2 separate regions of the Homo sapiens genome follow, and region 2 is linked to region 1. The links are contacts of gene promoters, found by promoter capture Hi-C in human tissues and cell types (Jung and others, 2019). All regions are on one chromosome and are shown on one strand. The core of a region is centred on a gene start or on the middle of the fragment in contact, and the rest is flanking DNA. Distances in the headings are between cores, read along the strand shown.

Region 1 (6,098 bases), core at 1,546-4,045:
CTCATAATCTGGCTTTTCTTTCTTTCCCTTTTTTTTTTGAGACAGAGTTTCGCTCCTGTTGCCCAGGCTGGAGTGCAATAGCGCAATCGCAGCTCACCACAACCTCTGCCTCCCAGCTTCCAGCAATTCTCCTGCCTCAGTCTCTGAGTAGCTGGGATCACAGGCATGCGCCACCACGCCCAGCTACCTTTTTGTATTTTTAGTAGAGACGGTGTTTCTCCATGTTGGTCAGCCTGGTCTCAAACTCCCAACCTCAGGTATCTGCCTGCCTCCGCCTCCCAAAGTGTTGGGATTTCAGGCATAAGCCACCACACCTGGCCATAATCTGGCTTTTCTACCTTTGTTGTCCATCATCTCCTGCAACCCTATGCTCATGAGAATACACAACTCTTCTGTTCCTACACTTTTAACACCTTCCGCACATGAGAATACACAACTCTTCTGTTCCTACACTTTTAACACCTTCCACACTCCATCTATCTTTGTCCAAACCACTAACAGAGACTTTCTTACCCACCTCCTGAACAAAACCAAGTTCCTTTTAATCTCCACATCTAGCATAAATATGCCCCCAAATTATTACTTTGAATATCATTTCCTGCTTTGTGCAGCATCAATTATCCATAGCAAAGAAAGGGTTCTAAAGCATGCAACTGGTTTAAAATGAGTTGCTTCACCATTGTACTGATCAGCAGACAGTATAACACACACAATAATTTGCTAAGGAAAGCCCATTTAAGCATTTAACTTACCTGTCACGAACACATTTAGCACACATGGAACCACCATAGGCCCTGCTGACATGTTTCTTTGTTTTGGACAATCTCATAAGAACTTTAGGTCTTACAGCACGAACCTGCATAAGAAAAATATTAAGATTTTTGTGATGCTTTAACAGAAATTTCCCTAAATTTTGTTAAGTGTTAAGGGCAAGTTTAAAGTAGGTTACAAAGGGAAATGGTGTACTCATTTATCTGAAAGGCATTTCACTGCATTTCTCAGATTGGTTTAAAAAGTCTATGTTCGTGGCAGATTTGGCTCATGAATGTTTAGTAATTCTGAACCCTCTTAGTGGTAACCTCTCCTTGATTCATTCCATCGTCAAGGGATGAAAGCTCAGTAAGTTCAAGACTTGTTAGGCTGCACACAGTAAAAGGTACACTTACCCCTCGAAGTCTGCCTGGGCACACACCACATGCAGATTTTGGTGCTTTCCCAACCTTCTTGGTATAAAGGTAAACAATTCTATTACCAGGGGTTCGGGACCTAGAAAGTGAAACAGTCAGTAGGTCAGCATTTTGTAGAGTAAATGACAATATATACTTAAAATTTTCAGAAATACTTACAGCCTAGTTTTGTTAGAGGCTGTATTGTAGGAAAGCCTACGTCGGTATGTCAAACGCTGGACCATTCTGAGTGCCTAAATTAAGAATAGAGTAACATCAAATCTTTCCATTGTAAAAGTAAATAAAATCTCAAAACAGTATCATGTGGTCTATTTCATTCACATACATATCCTTGTATGTAACACCCTTAAATTAAGATGTATTATTCCACATTTTAAAACTACTTGTATTTAAAGGTGACTGATAAACAAGAGGCCAAGAATGTTAGCTTTCCTGATGGTAATCAAACGTGGCACTTCCTTAACGTTCTGATGACCAGGCTCCTTACTCAGAGTCTAATTTTGTTTGGAGTGGTGTCCAGAAAAGTGCCACGAGCCCAGTTGGAGAAACACCGCTTTAAACAAAGAGCACAAAAAGTGAGCTCTGAAGTCGAATCCTTAGCTATGCCATTTACTGGGAATATAAAGGGCAAGGAGCTAGCCTCCTTATCTCTAACATGGGAATTCTGTCTACTTTATACAGCTGTCATTAGGATTAAACGACGTGGGCTATCCGTCCCAACACAATGCCTGGCACATATCAGGGTTCAATGTCTTGCCCTAAAGCACCACCTGCGTAAAGGCATACCCTTTAATACTAATTTTGATATTACACAAGTTTCTTTGGGTTATGGCACCTGCTTTCTTCCCACTTCTGGAAACATCGTGATGTTATTTAGCAAATCGGTTATACAGATATGCATACGAGCAACTTCGTTAAGGGAACTACCCAACGTAAAACATAATCAATACTTGAACTAATTTAATCTTCCCATTCCACCCCTTGTAACCACCTCATTTGTTGTCACAAGCCTCTCACTAAAATTAAACTAAAACAGAATTACCAGACACCAAAACTTGACACGTAAAACCAGTGCGAGTGATTTATGAAGCCATTATTCTGTTTGCATCTCCAAAAGCAAGACAGAAACTTCTAACACATTTTTCTCTTCCTTGACATGGGCCTTGGACGCAGAAGCCAAATAGCGAAACCACCCGAACTCGCCGGACCCTGCCCTCCCAAAGACTAAGGACACGTACAGGCGTGCTGTGAAAACGTGGGTGTAAAATATGAAAACGTTTGGCGATTTTCCAGACTCAAACCGCCAAACCACAACTCGTTAGTCTCCAAACGCTACACTTGGAATGCAGCAAAGTCCCGGGTGGTGAGCTGTGGCTACTCACGGCTTTGGAGGTGCCACCAGGAACAAGGGATTTCCAAAGATCAAAGTAAGGAACTTCCTCACCACCAACCTCCCTGTTGTGCCCCTTACCCCTACACCAGCTCAAAGGACTGCTTCTGAGAGCTCTAGGCTTCCTCAGCTCCTCGGATGGCAGCCGATTGGTAAGGAAATAAAGACAGGGAAAAGAGAACAACATCCATACCTGCAGACAACGTCCCCGGAAGAGGAAGAAAAAAGCCTTTGCCAGTTCAAAGGTCAAATAGAATTGCGCAGGACAGGAAGTTGCGTCAGAGAGAGAGTATCCGTGTTGTACGGAAGCCGACGCACCTCTCCGACGTGGGCAGAGATGCAGGGAACCACCACGTTGTACGGCAACCAACGTGCCGCCCCTCTGTGGGCGGGGATTCACACTAGCTGTCTGTGTCAAGGCCACGCAGAAATCTATTGGAAATCGCTGTGGAAACAAACGCAAATGAAAAGCCGCAAAGAGCAAAGGTGGGACAAAATCAACTTCTTTCGTTGTCATGGACACTGCACTTTTAATCTAAAGGGCGCCAGCTCTGGCGTTAGACCTGGGTTTAAATCCCAACTCTTGACATTTATGGTTAAGGGACCTTCAAGGACCAGGGACCTTCAAGAACCTTCCCTTCTTCAACCTTCCCTTCTCTTTCCTTGTCATTTATTCAGAGCACAAGCTTTACAAACAAATTGGGATTTTAATCCAGTGTCTGCTAATTATTAGCTATGTTACTTTGAGCAAGCCCTTAAATCTCTAAAAGGAAGATATTAGGAACTACCGTGCCATGTTATGTCATGATCAAAGGCATTATGAAGTTAAAGCACTTAGCACAGGGTCTTATAGAGAGGAAGTGCTCAGTAAATGGTTGCTAATCTTATGATTATGTACAAAGAACTACTTGAGGCTTTTCATGGGTGGTAAAGTTTAACCTTTAAAACAGTATGTAAAATTTTACATTAAGCGCACGTGTGTATTTTTCTGAGAAGAGGGTCCCTGGCTTTCATCACCTTGTCAAAGGGATTCATGACCTCTAAAAAAGTAAAGAACTCTTTGCCTGGGCTGTAAAAGACAATTCTAAAAGGGGCCTTTAAGTTTTTAATCTTAGATCAGGCTCCCTGGAAACACACCTCGAAGAGACTTGAGTGTTGGCTTATGGGGAGCGCTCTTAGAATGCACCTCCAGGAAGCTGAGAAAGGCGGGGTCAGGTGATCCACAACGTGGTTGCTGTGAGGCAGCTGCATTGCCCCAGAAGAGAGGATTTGGATAGGATATCCCAGTACCCACTCAACTTTCCTTCTAGTATTTCTAATCCATCTAGCAAACCAAGAAAGCAGGCAAGTGACTGAGGGCATGTAGTCTGTCTTGAACTGTGAGGCCTATTGATTCTATCAAGCCTCACATCACTGCCATCTTTGTCACAACACCAGATGGAAGGCTCTGGTTATATCCTTCCCTCTGCTCACTCTCAAATAGCTGCTTCTCCCCCGACCTTGTCATCAGCTACTTCCCTCCTTTCCAGTCCTTTGATTTTTGTCCTCTGAAATCCTTTTCGTCTCTGTGCCAGGCATTGAGATGGAAGCTTGCATAGAGAGACAAATGTGGTTTTTGAATAAATGCACTAATGAATGTATTTACTTGCAATATGTTCTCTATATTTTAAGAGAGACTTTGCAGAGCAGAAGAGAACAGGAGATGGGAGCCCTTGGCACACTATGCTGTTGTTTACGTCTCTGTCCGTGCCTTCCCCCACCCAAGTAGATAAGAATAGTGGTCTCATTGTTGTAGTTTTCCCTTAAGGTACTTAACCCAGTTCCATAATACTATTTTTCCCTCTCTTTAAATTTGTATTTGCATTTTTTCTTGATCAGTCTTGAGAGAGATATGGCAATCTTATTAAAAACTTCAAAGACAGCCAGGTACAGTGGCCCATGCCTGTTAATCCTAGCACTTCGGGAGGCTGATACAGAAAGATCACTGAGACCTGTAGTTAAAGATCAGCCTGGGCAACATAGCGAGACGCCCATCTCTACAAATTTTTTTTTTTTAATTAGCCAGGTGTTGTAGCACACACCTTTAGTCCCACCTACTCAGGAGGCTGAGGCTGGAGGATCACTTGAGCCTAGAAGTTTGAGGCTGCAGTGAACCATGATTGTGCCACCATACTCCAGCCTGGGCAACAGAATGAGATCCTATCTCAATAATAATAATAATAATAATAAATGTATGAAACTTTGGTATATGACAAAGGTAATATATCAGATTGGTGGGGAAAGATTGGTGACTATTCAGTAAATGAAGTTGGGAAAAATGGTTATACATATGGAAAGAAAAAATTGTATCCTTAAGTCACTCTACACTGAAAAAAAAAACCTTAAATGAGTCAATAATAAGGCTTTAATTTATTAGGAAATATAGGTGACTATCTTATAGACGTTGGAGTAGAAGAGGATTTTTTAAACAAGGCACAAAAAGCACAAACTCAGAAAAGACCAATAAATCTGACCACATTACAATTAATAGCTTTTATCAAAAAACCCTTAAATAAAAAAATGTTAAACCTCAAAGTTTCCCAGTCCAAGCCAAAAAAAGTATGATAGGTTCACCTTATTTTAATTTCACAAAAATTTGTAAAATATTTATTAAGTGCACACAGAAATTAATGAACAGAGAACAAAGACAGATTAAAAAAACAAATGAGATTCTTTAGGCCGGGTGTGGTGGCTCATCCCTGTAATCCCAGCACTTTGGGAGGCCAAGGCAGGTGGATCGCTTGATGCCAGGAGTTCAAGACCAGCCTGGCCAACATGGCGAAACCCCGTCTCTACTAAAAATACAAAAATTATCTGGGCGTGGTGACAGGTGCCTGTAATCCCAGATACTCAGGAGGCTGAGGCACGAGAATCACTTGTGCCTGGGAGGTGGAGGTTGCAGGGAGCCAAGATTGCACCACTGCACTTCCACTGAAGTTGCCAGCCTGAGCAACATAGAGAGATCCTGTCTCTAAAAAAAAAATTTTAAGGGGTTTTGTACATGTGATTATGATTACTAATCAGTAGACTACAAAGGAAGCCAAAATTAGAAGTGGAATGAAGGAATGTGTTGCAAGACACCAACAGCTTTTGTTATGCTAAAAATAGAACTCGTTATTGGCAGTTGTTTTTTCTTGATTTTCTTGCTTTCAGTACTTTATGCCACTAAGCATAAAATAATCATTTTAGTATGCTCATGGATTCTATGGATCAGGAATTTCTACATGGTATAATGAGAATAGTTTGCCTTTACTATGTAATGATTGGAGCCTCAACTGGGGGGTAACTTGAACAGCTAAGGTGTGCATGGGTTCTCTAGAGAAACAGAACTGATAGGGTATACATTTATTTGTTTATTTATTATAGGAATTGGCTCATGTGATTAAGGCAGAGAGGCCCTGCAATCTGCCATCTGCAAGCTGGAAAACCAGGACAGCTGGTCGTATAAGCCCTAGTCTGAGTCCAGAGTCCCAAGAACCAGG
Region 2 (6,098 bases), core at 2,447-4,946, 160 kb after region 1:
TTTGGTTCAACTAACCCTCCATTGTCTGACAGACTGAGTAGGAGGGAGAAATCGCAGGAGAGAAGAGGAGGACGGAGATCCTTTATTTAGAAATATTTATTTTTCTTACTCAACTTTCTTGCTTGTAATGCACTGACAGTATTATTAATCACAAATGATATTGGAAGAGTAAATAAAAATAATGTTTGTGCTGGGTCGCTTGAGCTCAGGAGTTTTAGACCAGCCTGGGCAACATGGTGAAGCCCCATCTCTACCAAAAATACAAAAATATTAGCCGGGTTTGGTGGTGTGCTCCTGTAGCCCCAGCTACTCAGAGGCTGAGGTGGAAGTATCACTAGAGCCCAGGAGGTGGAGGCTGCAGTGAGCCAAGATTGCACCACTGTACTCTAGTCTGGGTGACAGAGTGAGACCCTGTCTCAAAAAAATAAAAAAATAATGTTTTCCAAAAGTCCCACAGAGGCTCTGGTCCACAGACAAGACATAATATACTGGTGTGAATCGGGACTTCACTCCTGGTGCCAGTGCTAATCCCAGGCTATAGTGGGCAGGGGCAGGTCTAGAGGATGGCGGAAAGGCATGATCACTTGCAAATGCACTAATTCCAACAGCCACATGATGATCCTATGTCCACCTTGGCCATTCTTATTGAATCTACTGTGCTAGTTATTAAGCTATCACCTCTCAGCTTTAAACCCATCCTTCTACACTCCATGCTGGGACTCAGGAAACTACATTTTTCCTTTGTCAGCTCGTTCTCTGTTAGATTTTGCCAATAGGGAGTAATAGAGGAAGACTGAAAGGCAGAAAGGGGAAGCATGGTGGAGCAATTTGTTCCTATCTCCAGCTTGTACTTGCACTCCCAGAACCAGTCTCAGTTTCAATGTGGTTTCATACTGCTATGGTTTCAATGTGTCTCCCAAAGTTCACAGGGGCTGGAAATTTGATTCTCAGTGCAGCCGTGTTGAGAGGTGGGACCCTTAAGGGGGGATTAGGCCATGAGGGCTCTGCTCTCATAAATCAATTAATGTCATTATTGCCAGGATGGATTAGTTATTGTGGGAATGAGTTCCTGATAAAGGATGACTTTGGCCCCCTTCCTCTCTGGCAAATGTGCTCTCTTGCCCTTTCACCTCCTGCCATGGGACGACATAGCAAGATGGCCTTTGCCAGATGTGAGATCCTAAACCTTGGACTTCCCAGCCTTCATAACTATAAGAAATAAATATATTTTCTTTATAAATGTACCCAGTCTGTGGTATTCTGTTATAGCAACACAAAACAGACTAAGATAGTCTCCCACCACTCCCATCAGAGATGTCAGCACCAGCCCGGTGGTTCTCCTTCTCAGAGGTATGAGTCCCAGCTCCATGTGCTTATCCCTTCAAGTTTCTAGGTTATGATAACACCAACATCTTCCCTGTGTTTTTCTAACCTTAGAGGTGGTGGATAATTTTCACACTTAATATTGCTGCATTATTTTTGACTTTTTTATTCTCAAGCACCTATTCTCTATTTTCTCACATTTTACCATAAAGTTTAGAGCACTATACACATGGTGCTGCACCTTGCATTTTTCATGTCGCAATACGTCTTACAGAGATGTGTGCATAGAGTTCTTCACAATTCTTTACATTAACCGATAATATTCCTTTAGGCTGAAGTACCATAATTTATTTAACTAGTCCGCTATTGGTGGAGGTTTTGCTTACTTCAATATTTTTCCAATTGAGAAAAAATGTCTTAATGAATGACATAGCAGAATTCAGAATTATATATACCATACATCATTTTGCATATGTGCAAATGTCTCAGTTCATTTTGTGCTGCTGTAACAGAACACCCAAGACTAGGTAATTAAAAAAGAACAGGAATTTATTTCTCACAGTTCTCAAGGCTGGTAAGTACAAGGTCAAGGCACCAGCATCTGGTGAGGACCTTATTTCCATGCCTCAAATGGTAGAAGGCAGAGGGCAAGAGAGAAACAACTCCCTCTGCCAAACACCTTTATAATGGCACCTAATTCCATTCATAGGGGTGGCACCTTCATGGCCTGGTCGCGTCTTAAAGGCCTCATCTCTTAATACAACCACATTGGCAACACCTAAGTTTTGGAGGGGATTCATTAAAAGCATAGCAGCAAGTATATCTGGTGGACAAATTTTCCAAAGTGACCTCACCTGGATCTAAGAGTATAAAAGAAAATTGCCCCCCATGGTGACTGTACCAATTTACACTCATACTAACAATGTATGAGAGTGTTTGCTTCCCTCACCTTCACTGAAAGAGTGTTATAAACCACTTACTGAAGTCAGTAAAATGAGTCTTTCATTGAGCATCTGAAGTCATGGCCTTGGTAGTTAAAAGGTACTGTCTCTCTTTTATAGACCTTAAAAATCCAGAACACTACTTGGTTGATCCATACCTGGTTCTTTTTTCAGGTAGACAGTTCAAGTTTCCTTAAGAAGACACCATCCTTTTTCCTAGGCCTATCTTCTTTGCTGTCTCTGCACAAAATGAAGCCTGGAGTGAGGCAGCCTAGGAATCAAAATTCTAGCTTTGCAGTCAAAAGCCTGAGGGTGTTGCTAGATGTCAATTTGACTTCCCTCTTGTCCTTACTTTTAGATTCCATTCCAATGTTATCCTTTAATAGTTTTATTTCAGGGAATTTGATTTTATTTCCCAGGCAGTGGAAGTTTGCATAAAGGTTTCATCAGGGGAGTGAATAGGGAAAATGGACTGATGGTGGAGGAGATTAAGCCCGGGGGGTGGAAGTCCAGGTGATTCATGATGGAGGACCCATGAGGGCAGTGTGGCAGCAATGGTGGAGGGTGGTACAGAGACTCAAGATATGGAGAGATAAAGACCAGATGATAGGAGGGAAGGAAGTAGGAGATCTGAAGAGGAAAAGAGAAGTTAGAGATGATGCTAAGATTTTTAGCTTCATCTACTTGGTAAATTATGAATAGAAAAAATAGGGAAGGGGGAGGCAGAAGAAAAGTATTAAATTTATATTTATAGTTTTTGGCTACTCTTTCTCTACTTTTTTTGTTTTTTGCCTACTTCATTTTCCCTTCATATTTTCTACTTTTTTGTTATGAAAATTTTAAAACATGCCAGAATGTTGAAGGAAAGTACATTCAACATTCCCACACTTACCCCCTAAATTAAAAAATTATTGATGCTTTGCTGTATTTGAGTTATACACACATGCAGATGTTTATTTTTGCAGAACGTTTGAAAGTAAGTTGCAGGTAACACAAAAGTTCATCCCTAAATGCTTCAGCATGCATCTCCCAATAATAAGGAAATCCTCCTCCAAAAGCACAATACCATAAAACATTTAAGAAAATTTACATTATTTCTCTAATATTAGCTAATTTAAAGCTTGTCTTCAAATTTTCTACATTATACCCAAAATATCTTTTATAGCTGGTTGTTTCAAAGCAAGATTCAATCACGCTTTATGCATTGCATTTGACTGTTATCTCTTTTAGTTCTTTTATCTCAGAACAGTCTCCATTTTTAAAAATGATATTGACTCTTATTGTCTTTTTGAAGAGACCAGGCCAATCAACCTATAGAGATCACACAATCTGGATTTGCCTGATTGTTGCTTTGTGGTATCCTTTAGCTTTTTACTCTCTCCCTTGTGTTTTATACAAACAGCAAGTTAGGTCTAAAAGACTTGATTACATTCAGGTTAAACATCATTGGCAAGAATAACTTACAGGTATTGCCACATACTTTCTATTTATCCCCTCAGCAGGTATCAAATGGCAGATTGTCCACAATTAGTGATAGTATATTTGATCACTTGGTTAAGGTAGTGGCCATCACATATTTTCATTTTGAAGATACATTTTCCTCTTTGCAATTATCAAGTTGTTTGTGGGGTGATATTTTGACACCTTGCAAATATCCCATCTCTCCTTATAACTTATATTTTGGAATGCTGGCCTATGGAATACCAGGCGAAATTGTCCAATGAGCAACTGGTAAAGCTTAGGGAGTTAAGTTTCAGCAATAGGACTTGAAGTCACTGGTATCAGGATGATGGTTAAAGCCAGTGAAGAGGGTGGGACCATCTAGAAAGAGTATACAGAGAAGAGGACTGGGGATGGGCAAAGGAAGCAGAGCCAGTAGAAGAGACCTAGGGGAAAATAATCCTGAACAAGAATAGGAACCTGCAAGGCTGGGACATGAAAGTTTCAAGTAAGGGTAGGAAGAGGAAACAATATTCAACCCTGTAGAGAGTCTTATCAGACGAAGCCCAGAAGAATGTCATGGAGGAGGGAAACCACCAGAAGATTCTTAGCAGAATGGTGAGGACAGAATCTGCTTGGCAATGAGGGCAGGCTGACTGTAGGGGCAAAGAGAGGGAGAAGAGCATATTCAGAAATAAGGTAATGTGGTTATGAAAAAGATTTTATTTTGCTTGCTTGTTTATTTGAGGGATGCAATATATTTGATCCTATTTGAGGACAAATGGAAAAGAACCAGTGGAGAGGGAGAGGACTAAGACTGTAAGGGGATGATTTATGGTGTTGGAGGAGAGGGCAAGGGAATGTGATTAAGGACACAGGGGTTTCACCTTGCGAAAGGATTGTCCCTTTCACAACAGAGCAACCTCAGTAAGAATGAGGTTTGACAAGGATGATTATGTTGGAGGAAAGTTGGAGGAATTCTCACCGGATGACCTCGATTTCTTCAGTGAGGTAGGAGATTGTCTCATGTAAGCAGGTGTGGGTAATCTGGGTCTTGAATCCCAAACCTTGAAGAGAATAGAGAGTTTTGAACAGCTGTTGAGAAGCCAGTGCATGCCCATATAATAGCAAGGAAGAGGAATATGAAGAGCCCACCAAAAATATGAATGAAGGGTTTGTTCCTTACACATCTGTAGCTCACTAAGTAGATCATAGCTTCCTAAAGAGTCCTCATTTGTTTTCCATTTCCCTCTGTTATTGGTTTAAAATATGGTGTCAGTCAGTGCCTGGCCCTCTGCACTCCCACCCTGTCTGACAACCAACCATTCCTCAGATGGGCCGCCCTCCTGCCCCTCATCCAAGCCCAGTGAGATGCTTGAGAAGTCAGACTCACAGAGACTCACAGAGACCCACTGTGGCATGTCAGAACCCACAGAAAATGTTCCTCCTGTGCATTATTTATGACTTTCCTGCATTTATATAATATCCAGCTTCCTGAAAGTAATTTGTTTTGGATTGTGTAGTGCTGGGCAGCACATCAAAGGTATGCTAAGCAGTGGTAATAAAACATTGAGGTTTATGGTCACTGAGGTATTAAATATCGCTCATAAATTACAGGGTGAGTATTTTAAATGAGCTATGGCTCAGAGAACAGTAGGTGCCCCATCTCTACACATATTAATTGCTACTCCCTGGCTTATTAATTATCAATAGTTTCAAAGGCTTTTTTACGGTCATTTTCTTAAGGAACCATTCTATGCCATTTCTGTGGTTCTGTGAGTGTTCATGTGAATGATGTATTGTGTGCATGAGCTGGCATTAGGCATAATAAAAATGTGAGGATACTTTAGAACATTGTAGTGTCTGATAGCCTTTCATTTAAAAATCAAATATTCCCCCTGTTTTAACCACTGGCATTCTGGTTGCTTTTTCCTAACAAGGCACCCTGCTTACTGCTTTGGACTTCAAGTGGCAAAGTCAGGAGGAGAGTACAGATCTGTTTCATTTCAGTTCTGATCAACTTTTGGTTGTAAGGCTCTATCCCATTGATTCCCACCTTTTTCTGCCAAATTGCCCTGTTGACATTTGATTAAGTTTTACAGGCTCTTTTTCCATTTGAAAACTCCAGTGTCCTTTTTTTCTATACCTGCCTTTAGCATTGTTTTATCATCAACATATCTGAGTTCCTACTTTCTCGCCTCCGCAAGTCTCTGCATATTTCTTCTCAGGCTAGTTCCTTCAGATTCTTGGGTTTAATTATCCGATGTAGAAGTTACCAAGGAGTCCCAGAGGACACCCAAGCACCACACTTGGAAAGGAGCTGGTGTTTTATAAAGTTGAACGGCTCACAATGCATCCCTTGGAAATCTCATTTAAAACAGACATTCCAGACAC

Evidence for each region. Contacts are between HindIII fragments. The study calls those that stand out against the background at their distance.
Region 2: a contact is called between a fragment that was not itself captured here and the fragment with the promoter of RPL34 in region 1, in 1 of the 25 tissues and cell types used here (heart right ventricle).

Annotation. Positions count from the first base shown.
Region 1 is chr4:108,617,273-108,623,370 of GRCh38, reverse strand. RPL34 (ribosomal protein L34) reads right to left here and starts at 2,795. Exons shown (of 5, transcript NM_001319236.2): 1 at 2,771-2,795; 2 at 1,347-1,420; 3 at 1,167-1,266; 4 at 753-856. The coding sequence starts at 1,411. It overlaps RPL34-DT (RPL34 divergent transcript), which reads left to right and starts at 2,914. Exons shown (of 4, transcript NR_026968.1): 1 at 2,914-3,063. RefSeq lists enhancers at 2,783-2,832, 2,058-3,257. The HindIII fragment of the contact is 5,652 bases long and covers 1-3,715 here.
Region 2 is chr4:108,453,582-108,459,679 of GRCh38, reverse strand. No RefSeq gene overlaps it. Among named protein-coding and RNA genes, the nearest start is that of RPL34-DT, 160 kb to the left of the region's middle. The HindIII fragment of the contact is 5,912 bases long and covers 741-6,098 here.